Regions from separate parts of the Homo sapiens genome. Here region 1 is linked to region 2. The links are contacts of gene promoters, found by promoter capture Hi-C in blood cells and fetal thymus (Javierre and others, 2016). All regions are on one chromosome and are shown on one strand. Each heading gives the region's core, a stretch centred on a gene start or on the middle of the fragment in contact. The rest is flanking DNA. Distances are from core to core; before and after follow the strand shown. Region 1 holds the start of ZMYM1 (zinc finger MYM-type containing 1). Region 2 holds the start of ZMYM4 (zinc finger MYM-type containing 4).

The links. The method cuts DNA at HindIII sites, captures the fragments that hold promoters and counts their contacts. A CHiCAGO score of 5 or more calls a contact.
Region 1: a contact is called between a fragment that was not itself captured here and the fragment with the promoter of ZMYM4 in region 2, in 1 of 17 cell types (naive CD8 T cells). The highest score is 5.1, in naive CD8 T cells.

Annotation. Positions count from the first base shown.
Region 1 is chr1:35,076,619-35,081,156 of GRCh38, reverse strand. It overlaps ZMYM1 (zinc finger MYM-type containing 1), which reads right to left and starts at 1,772. Exons shown (of 10, transcript NM_024772.5): 1 at 1,715-1,772. RefSeq lists an enhancer at 1,347-1,865. The HindIII fragment of the contact is 5,042 bases long and covers 1-4,180 here.
Region 2 is chr1:35,265,983-35,270,780 of GRCh38, reverse strand. ZMYM4 (zinc finger MYM-type containing 4) reads right to left here and starts at 2,072. Exons shown (of 30, transcript NM_005095.3): 1 at 1,696-2,072. The coding sequence starts at 1,734. RefSeq lists silencers at 1,553-1,682, 1,753-2,112 and enhancers at 2,243-2,302, 2,323-2,382. The HindIII fragment of the contact is 2,104 bases long and covers 458-2,561 here.

The sequences.
Region 1 (4,538 bases), core at 410-2,909, 190 kb after region 2:
GTCGGAGTTCTAGACCAGCCTGGCCAACATGGTGAAACCCTGTCTCTACTAAACAAAAATTAGCCAGGTGTGGTGTAATCCCAGCTACTTGGGAGGCTGAGGCAGGAGAATCACTTGAACTGGAGGTGGAGGTTGCAGTGAGCTGAGATCGCGCTACTGCACTCCAGTCTGGGAGACAAGAGTGAAATGCTGTCTCAAAAAAAAAAAATTATTTTATTCAACTGAGTTCTGCAAGGTCTTTTACTAGCCTGATGGGAAGGCTGGAGGCAGAAGGCTATATGTTTTTCAAACCAAACTAAAATGTCCATGGTTAATTCTGCAGGCAATGAAGAGCCATCATTTCCGAAGTGCCTTGGTACCGGGTTACACTGATGAGTAGGATGTCCCAACCAGTAAGTATATACAAGGTACTGAGAAGAAATGAAAAAAGAAGACGGTCAGTCTTCTGGGAGGTGAAATTTGAGCTGGGTTTTAAAGTGTCTACCAACCAATGATGGCGGATATTCCTGGTATAGAGACAGCATGTACAAAACCACAAATAGCCGGGCACAGTGGCTCAAGCCTGTAATCCCAGCACTTTGAGAGGCCCAAGCAGGTGGATTGCTTCGATTCAGGAGTTCGAGACCAGCCTAGGCAACATGAAGATAACCTGTCTCTACAAAAAATACAAAAATTAGCTGGGCGTAGTGGGGAGCACCTGTTGTTCCAGCTACTCTGGAACCTGAGGTGGGAGGATCGCTTAAGCTCGGAAGGCTGAGGCTGCTTGTGAGCCGTGATCGTGTCACTGCACTCAGCCTGGGCCAAAGAGCGAGACCCAGTCTCCAAAAAAAAAAAAAAAAAAAGAAGCACAAATATATGGGAACTAGAAGGAGTGGGACTGTTGTTGCAGATAAAGTACAAGTGCAAGAGTGCTAGTAGAAGGAACTGGAAAGTTTGAAAAGTAGACATGGGTCATGTCAGGAAGGTCCCTGATACCAAATACCTTAAAATTAATCTTGTAAATCAGCAGCGTTCAAACTGTGCTTTTGGGGTTCAGCAAACATTTCATTTTTTTTTTTGAGACGGGGTCTCGCTCTGGAGTGCAGTGGCACGATCTCGACTAAATGCAACCTCTGCCTCCCGGTTCAAGCGATTCTCCTGCCTCAGCCTCCTGAGTAGCTGAGATTACAGGCGCCTGCCACCAAGCCCAGCTAATTTTTGTACTTTTAGTAGAGACGGGGTTTTGCCATGTTGGCCAGGCTGGTCTCGAACTTCTGACCTCAAGAGATCCGCCCGCCTGGGCCTCCCAAAGTGTCGGGATTACAGGCTTGAGGCACCACGCCCGGCCAGGAGTCAAACTTTTGAAAAATCACTGCTCAATGAAGGAGAGATACAGGTGTGATGGGGCTTCTGAAACGGAGGCTGCGGAGCGAGACTAAAGTCTGAAGGCCCAGTTACTACACAGGAGCAGGAGGCGGCGAGAATCGCTGGAAGCGGGGAGCACTAACCCCCCCAGTCTATGAGGGCAAGGTTAAAGGAGGCGGCAAACACAATCCACGTCAGGGCCTGGCCCGGAGTTCCCGACCCCCATCTGGCGGAATCCGCACTCAAAGCTCCGTCTCTAAAACCCCGACCCGGCGCGTCATCCTCCCTCCGACCGACAGCAGAAACCCTGCCCCTTTCGAGTAAGGCGCAGGAGTAAAGACCGAAACCAGAGCCGCATGAGGAGGCTTACTAATTTCTCTCAGGGACGCCCCGCCCAACGCTTCTGAAACAATCTTCGAAGCGAAACGGCCCCGCCGACCCCGCCCCTCTCCCGTCGTGCTCTGCGGTTGAGCATGCGCAGGGCCGCTGGCTCAGGGTGGTCCCAGCTCCCTGAATTGGGAAGAGCGACTTTGGGATAGAAGAAGTGGGAGAGGGGGAGGGGAAGAGTCCTTACGGCCCGCATAGGATCTTACCCTTGAAGTCGTCGCTGGCTGGCAGCCAAAGTAGGACCCTTGACTCAGAGCTCAGGCAGGGCAGTTAGATTTCCTGGATTTGAGAGATGGCTTTACTACTTATTAGCTGTGTGCTAGTAAGCGATTTGACAACTTCTATAAATCTCCATTTCTTCGACCTTGAAATGGGGATAATTGTAGTGGCTGCATCGTAGGTTTGTAAACATTAGGCAGGCTTCTGCAGAAGCTGGACTCAAAAAAAAAAAATATGACAGGCAATGTTAGCAAAGTGCCAGTTGCAGAGTAAATTCCTAGTAAAAGGAAATTATCCTCAGAGGTAGGGAGGGAGTTCAGACTTCTTTCATTAGTACGTTAAAATTAAAATGACCCCAGGCTGGGTGTGGTGGGTCACACCTATAATTCCAGCACTTTGGGAGGCCGAGGCGGGTGGACTGCTTGAGTTCAGGAATTCAAGACCATCCTGACCAACATGGTGAAACCCCGTCTCTATTAAAAATACAGAAATTAGCCGGGCATGGAGGCGGGCGCCTGTAATCCCAGCTACTTGGGAGTCTGAGGCAGGAGAATCGCTTGAAGCCAGGAGGCAGAGGTTGCAGTGAGCTGAGATTGTACCACTGCACTTCAGCCTGAGCGACAGAGAGAGACTGCGTCTCAAAAAAAAAAAAAAAAAAAAAAAAAAAAATTAAAATAACCCCAAACTGCATGTCAAAAATAATGGCATATTTTAAATGTTTTTTGACAATACTTTCAACACCTAAAAAAGTATAGGACGAACTAACTGTGCTATTCCTAAAGGCATAAGAGGATTCTAAAATATATATATAAGGTTGAATGATGAACTTATTATAATCATATTTGACAATTACTTTTAAAGGAGATATTCTCAAAAATCTAAATTTGAGGCCCTTGTGAAGGTGAGGTCCAGACCAAAAGGGCCTCCTAATCCTTGCTGCTATGGTCCTTAAATATCCTTTGGAATTAGCCTCAAATCTAATATAAACCCTTTGGTAATTTGAAATATTATACGAGTAACTGAAGTTAATTTCTCCAACATTTATTATTACCTTCTAATATTCATAATAATCTGTTTAGACTGTTAGGATTAGAAAGGACCTTACTGAAATGATCTCTCCTCTAATGCTCCCTTCCTACCAAAGGAAAAGCTGAAGGCAAGAGGATAAAGGTAATTTGCCCCAAGTTACACAGCAACTCAGTGACTGGGATTAGATTGGAACCCAGAAATGAGTCCTGGTTCAGTGGGCATCCAAAGGCAAGTGATGTCATTGTAAATGCCCCGTGGGTTCACCTTGCCCGCTACCTAAACACAGTCCATTTATCAAGACGGGGAATTGCAATAGAGAAAGAGTAATTCACGCAGAGCCAGCTGTGCGGGAGACTGAAATTTTATTATTATTTAAATCAGTCTCCTCGAGCATTTGGGAATCAGAGTTTTTAAGGACAACTGGTGGGTGGGGGGAAGCCAGTGAGCCAGAAGCGCTGATTGGTTAGGTAGGAGATGAAATAATGGGAAGTTGAAGCTGTCTGTCCTCATGCGCTGAGTTAGTTCCCTGGTGGGGGCCACAAGATCAGATGAGCCTGTTTATCTATCTGGGTGGTACCAGCTGATCCATCAAGTGCAGGGTCTGCAAAATATCTCAAGCACTGGTCTCAGGAGCAGTTTAGGGAGGGTCAGAATCTTGGCCTCCAGCTGCATGACTCCTAAACCATAATTTCTAATCTTGTGGCTAATTTGTTAATCTTATAAAGGCAGTCTAGTCCCCAGGCAAGGAGGAGGTTTGTTTTGGGAAAGGGCTGTTATTGTCTTTGTTTTAAACTATAAACTAAATTCCTCCCAAAGTTAGTTTAGCCTATGCCCAGGAAGGAACAAGGACAGTTTAAAGTTAGAACCAAGATGGAGTCCATTAGGTTAGATCTCCTTCATGGTCTCAGTCATAATCTTGCAATGGTGGTTTCATCGTCATTACTAACTTCCTTGGGAGTTGAGTTGAAAAAATGGTAGGATTCATGATATCATAAAAAATTGTAAGGATGTGTGATAATTTTGAGATGTGATATTCCAACCACCCCCAGTGATAGATCTGAAAATTTGGCCCAATATTTCAAGCAGTAGATGTAGGTCACAAGTTTCATGCGTCTTTCTTGCCCTGAAGTCTCAATAGTTTATACTGGCTGAAAGATTAAGTCCTAAGGAATAGGAGGAGAGCTCTGGGAGATAGGAAGCTTGATTCATTCTTTTTCTTTTCTTTTCTTTTTTTTTTTTTTTGAGACAGAGTTTTGCTCTTGTCACCCTGGCTGGAGTGCAATGGCGTGATCTTGGTGGCTCACTGCAACCTCTGCCTCCTGGGTTCAAGCGATTCTCCTGCTGCAGCCTCTCAAGTAGCTGGGACTACCGGAGTGCCCCATCATGCCCAGCTAATTTTGTATTTTTAGTAGAGATGGGGTTTCGCCATGTTGGCCAGTCCAGTCTTGAACTCCTGACCTCAAGTGATCTGCCCACCTCAGCCTCCCTGGGTGCTGTGATTACAGGCGTGAGTCAACGTGCCTGGCTGATTCATTTGTTTTCCTTTCTTTTTTTTTTGA
Region 2 (4,798 bases), core at 823-3,322:
TTTTGAGACAGTGCCTCCCTCTGTCACCTAGGCTAGAGTGCAGTAGCACGATCTCGGCTCACTGCTACCACCGCCTCCCTGCTACCACCGCCTCCCAGGTTCAAGCGATTCCCCTGCCTCAGCCTCCCGAATAGCTGGGATTACAGGCACCCGCCACCACGCCGGGTTAATTTTTTGTATTTTTAGTAGAGACGGGGTTTCACCATGTTGGCCAGGCTGGTCTCGAACTCCTGGCCTCAAGTGATCCTGCCGCCTCGGCCTCCCAAAGTGCTGGGATTACAGGCGTGAGCCGCTGTGCATGTCCGGAATGCAATGTTAACAGTAGGATCTAGGCGGTTGGGTGTATGACTGCTCCCCGTAAGTTTTATAATATTGACGGATAGTTCAAAATATTTTCCTAATAAATTGTTGGAAAAAATAATACTTGACACTTCTTTGGTCATTTACAATTTAAGCTTTTAAGGAGAGAAACACAGATTAAAGAAACTCCTCTGTGGCATCCCACACAGGCACTATAGTTGGGACAAACCTGGATTCAAATCCTACCTCAACCTTGCAACTAGCTGTGTGATCTAAGTAAATTACTTAAGCCCTCAACACCTAAATTTCCTCATCTGCAAATAGGTTCTAGGAGGAGTTACTATGAAGTTAAATTCTTCACATAAAGGTCTTAGCTCAGTGCCAGGCACACAGTAAGCACTCAAAACATCAGCTGTAGCATCATTACGAGATTACTAATTTTACGCTAAGCTGAAAGGGCATTCTTCATAAAGTAGTAATTTTTTGCCCTTTTGCTAATTGATCGTTTCTGAAACCATTCCCAAAAGGAAGACTCCTAAAAGGAAACTTACTTCTTATCATGCTAAGCGGGGAGGAAGTAAAAGAAAAGTGAGGGATATTGCTCAATCGATAGTACAGTATTGTTCGCCATCTGAAAAAAACCACTCAGAATTAAATAAGGAAAGTTTCCAGACAAACTTTAAAAGGTATTCAAACAACTCCTATGTAGAATTGGCTTCACCTCTGCAGGTTGATTGGGTACATCCCTGTTATGAGAAAACTTGTCGTATTCTTCCAAGTCCCTAATTGCGAGTAAGAGGCTAGGCTAGAACATGACATTCATAGTAGCCAAAATCTTTCTCCTAAATCAGGACATGCCAACGATCCCACTTCTTCACAGGTAAGACCACCACCCCGACTTTGGTCTAGATAACGGCTATGGGGGGAGGGGAAAGGAGGCAGGAAAATGAATTCGCGATGGTGTTACTGAAGAACCCTCCGGTTATTTCTCCTGAGACCCCTCCACGACTTATTCCCGCCACCACCACCCCCACCTGACCTCTCCCCAGTTAACTTCCAGACTCTGATGTACTAAAGATGCACTAAAGATGCACTTAAGAATCTGACACCTCCCCTCCCTGGGCCTAGATATCCCACCCCAGTGCTGGGGAACGTCGGGGGGAGGAAGGCAAACAACGGCCCCCTCCCCTCCCCCCCACCCAGCACCAAATCTTTGTCCCACCTGCCGAGGGACCGCTCGCCAGCGCGCTCCGGACCCAAGGCTGCCTCAGACCTGCCCGCAACCTTGTCCTAACTGGGCCTCGGCGACCCCTCCACGAACCTGAGTATGGCCCATTCCCGGCCCCGGGCCGCGCCCCGCCCCCCGCCGCCCGAGTTCTGCCTCACCTCACCTACCCTCTTTCGGGGGCCGGACTCCACCTCTCTCTCCGCCATGTTGGGCCCCGCTCGGAACCGCTGCGGCTCCCCGCGCGGTGGCGGCGGTACCTCTCGGCCCCCCGGCCCCCGCCCACACTGCAGGCACGGCCGCCTCGCGGCAGCTTCCCCGGACCCGGCCGGGCCTTGCGCCGAGAGTGGGGAGGGGGCGGATGCCGCGCGCCGGGCCGCAGCTTCTGAGATCCCACGGGTCCGCGCGTGGGCGGGAGGGCCTGCCCGGGGACGGGGTGGGGGCCGGGACTCGGGGGGTTAATGGCCTCCAAGGGGCCCCGTGAGTAGGATTATTTTCTCTCAGAGAAATTCCTCCGCCTGCGGTTTCTTAAAGGGATCACCAAATCAGCCCCTTGCGCGCGCCCCTGATGCGCAGGCGCACCCTAAGTCCCTCCTTCCTTTCCCACCAAGCCCCCGGTCCTGAGCGTGCGCGGTAAGTGGCCATGGGTAGGCCAAATCCTGCAAGTCTCTTTGCTGCCAGCAGCTGCTCCCACCACTCAACTATGGCCGCTCCCTTAAAGGGACCATGACGCAGGGATGAAGGAGAAATGAAAGAAATTACTGGAAAGACAATCTGGAGAATTGGGTGCAATGTCAGTGAAGGGTTCCACATCACCATCTTACACCTGACTACAGTGGTACCATTGAAGAGGGAAAGTCATGGTAAGCTGAAGTTCTCAGTGGACCTCTGAACATGAAGAATCCCAAACCAATGAGGGAACAAGACAGTCATCTCAAGGAAAACCAACTTTCCTCCCTTTCGACTGCCTGTTCTGAAGCACAAGGCATAGAATATCAAGAGCCAACTCCTATAACCTCACCTTAAAATCAAAGCTTTTGGTGATTTTGAAGATTGAACCAACAACTGGAAATAATTTCTTCAATAGTAATTTATCCTTAGAACATCAAAATGGAGAAGGATCTTAGGGAACCATTTACTCCAGTGCTCCCAATGATAAAATTGCAGCCTGATCATGGGAAGGAATTTGTCCCAATGTAACTAATGGCTGGTGTGGAGTTGGAATCAAGATTACAGTCTCAGTCCTCCAGGCTGTCTTCAGGCGAGAGATAAATTTGGTTTAATTTGATATCCCTAGAAGATTAAAAATTGAAGTTTCATGGTATTTGGAGAATATCATAATTCTCTTGTGAAGATGTAATGATTTGCAGATGATGGGTGTCCTCATTCACCTCTATTGAAGGAGCTTGACAATCTGCCTTAAAGGATAAGCATCTTATTTCTAAGCAGGAAACCAGGAAGTAGATTTGGGTCTATCTTGTTCCAAAACTGGGTCCTAAGCTGAAAATCGCTGAAAAGAATGAGGGCTTCATTCATTCCTCTTCTGTTCATTCTAGTTCCCACAAGCTTTGGGTGCAGAAAAAATTAAGTTTATAATGATAGTTCAGGGACAGTGGGGAGACATATAGTAAGAAATACAAAGAAGATGCCTCCTGAAGGTCATTTCCCATGACAAGACATATTCAAGTGGGAATGATAACTCCTGAAGTCACAGGATAATGAGATGTAACTTCTGTTTTCTGTTTTATTTAGCACTTGGTAGCTATTCTGAAACAGATGTTTTCTAATCTGTAATATTTTGCTGAAAACTTTTGGTGAAATTGCTGGAAGTTTCCATACTGGCCTTGCTTATGCCTTTAGCACTGTCTTTAATTTCACTCCTCGGTAGGAGAGAAGAAAGAAGGACAAAGAAATATGTTCATTTCAGCCAGAATTTTAAAAACATGTTCCCTTTAGTTCCATGTCCAGGACAAGAAAGAAAAGAGGAGCCAAGAAAAGATAATTCCAGGGAATGTGGCTACATAAAACTTGTAGTGGTTTCCACCTGTTTTATTGGCAGTGGAATACTCCCTTCTAATAAAATCTGGTGGTTTAAAATGTGGAGCTGCTAAGTTGGGAGTGTAAGTGGGGAACCCACTAGTCTATTCACCCAGCTTCACCCTTGCACTCTCTCTCCTTTCATGCCCCCTCCCATCATTACAGAAATGTTGAGTTTCTCAGATCACAGTTTAAACTTATTAGTTTAGTCTAACTCCACATTTTCAAGATGAAGCCTCTGAGGCTTAGAGAAGATATGATTTGCTTGAGATCACACACAGGATTAGTAACAGTATCAAGACTGAAACAGACATCTTGATCCTCAGGGCTCTGTCCTACACAGACTGTTTCTGGAGGTATTAGCAATGTGTTAGGTCTCGAATAATAGGTGGGATTTGTGCATTTCAGATAATATACAAGCATAACATGAATGTTCAGGGCAGTCATCCATATGGAGGAATAAGACAAGAGAAAACCATTTAGTGAGCACTGAAAAGTTAATCATAATTTTATAGAAGGATTCACAGAGCTTAAGTGACTAGTCCAAGATCATTCAGCACAGAGGCCAAGTCAGAATTCAAAGCCTTGTTCTTTCTGACTTATTTGAAATATCGTAAAGTAGACATTGTAAATTGGTGGCCTTGTGACCAAATCTGTCCCACAGAAATGCATTTGATTTGTATTGTGTATAGCTATATGATCTTGGTCAAGGTAATTGTCCTGTGCCTCACTTTCCTTATCTGTAAAATGGGACACCAAGAGGATTAAATTAGTTAACATCTCTAAATCTCCTAGAACACTGTTGGTTCCTAATACCATATGAGTATCATTATTATTATTATTATTATTTTTTGAGACAGAGTCTCACTCTGTCATCGAGCTAGAGTGCAGTGGCGCGATCTGGGCTCACTGCAAGCTCCGCCTCCCGGGTTCACACCATTCTTCTGCCTCAGCCTCCCGAGTAGCTGGAACTACAGGCACCCGCCACCATGCCCGGCTAACTTTTTGTATTTTTAGTACAGACTGGGTTTCACTGTGTTAGCCAGGAGGGTCTTGATCCCCTGACCTTGTGATCCGCCTGCCTCGGCCTCCCAAAGTGCTGGGATTACAGGCGTGAGCCACCGCGCCCGGCCATTATCTTTTTTTTAAAAAAAAAAAGTTAAATCATATATCAACATTTTAAATGGGATATTTCACCTACAAGTTCAGTGCTCTGACTTGTTTCAAAAAAAAAAA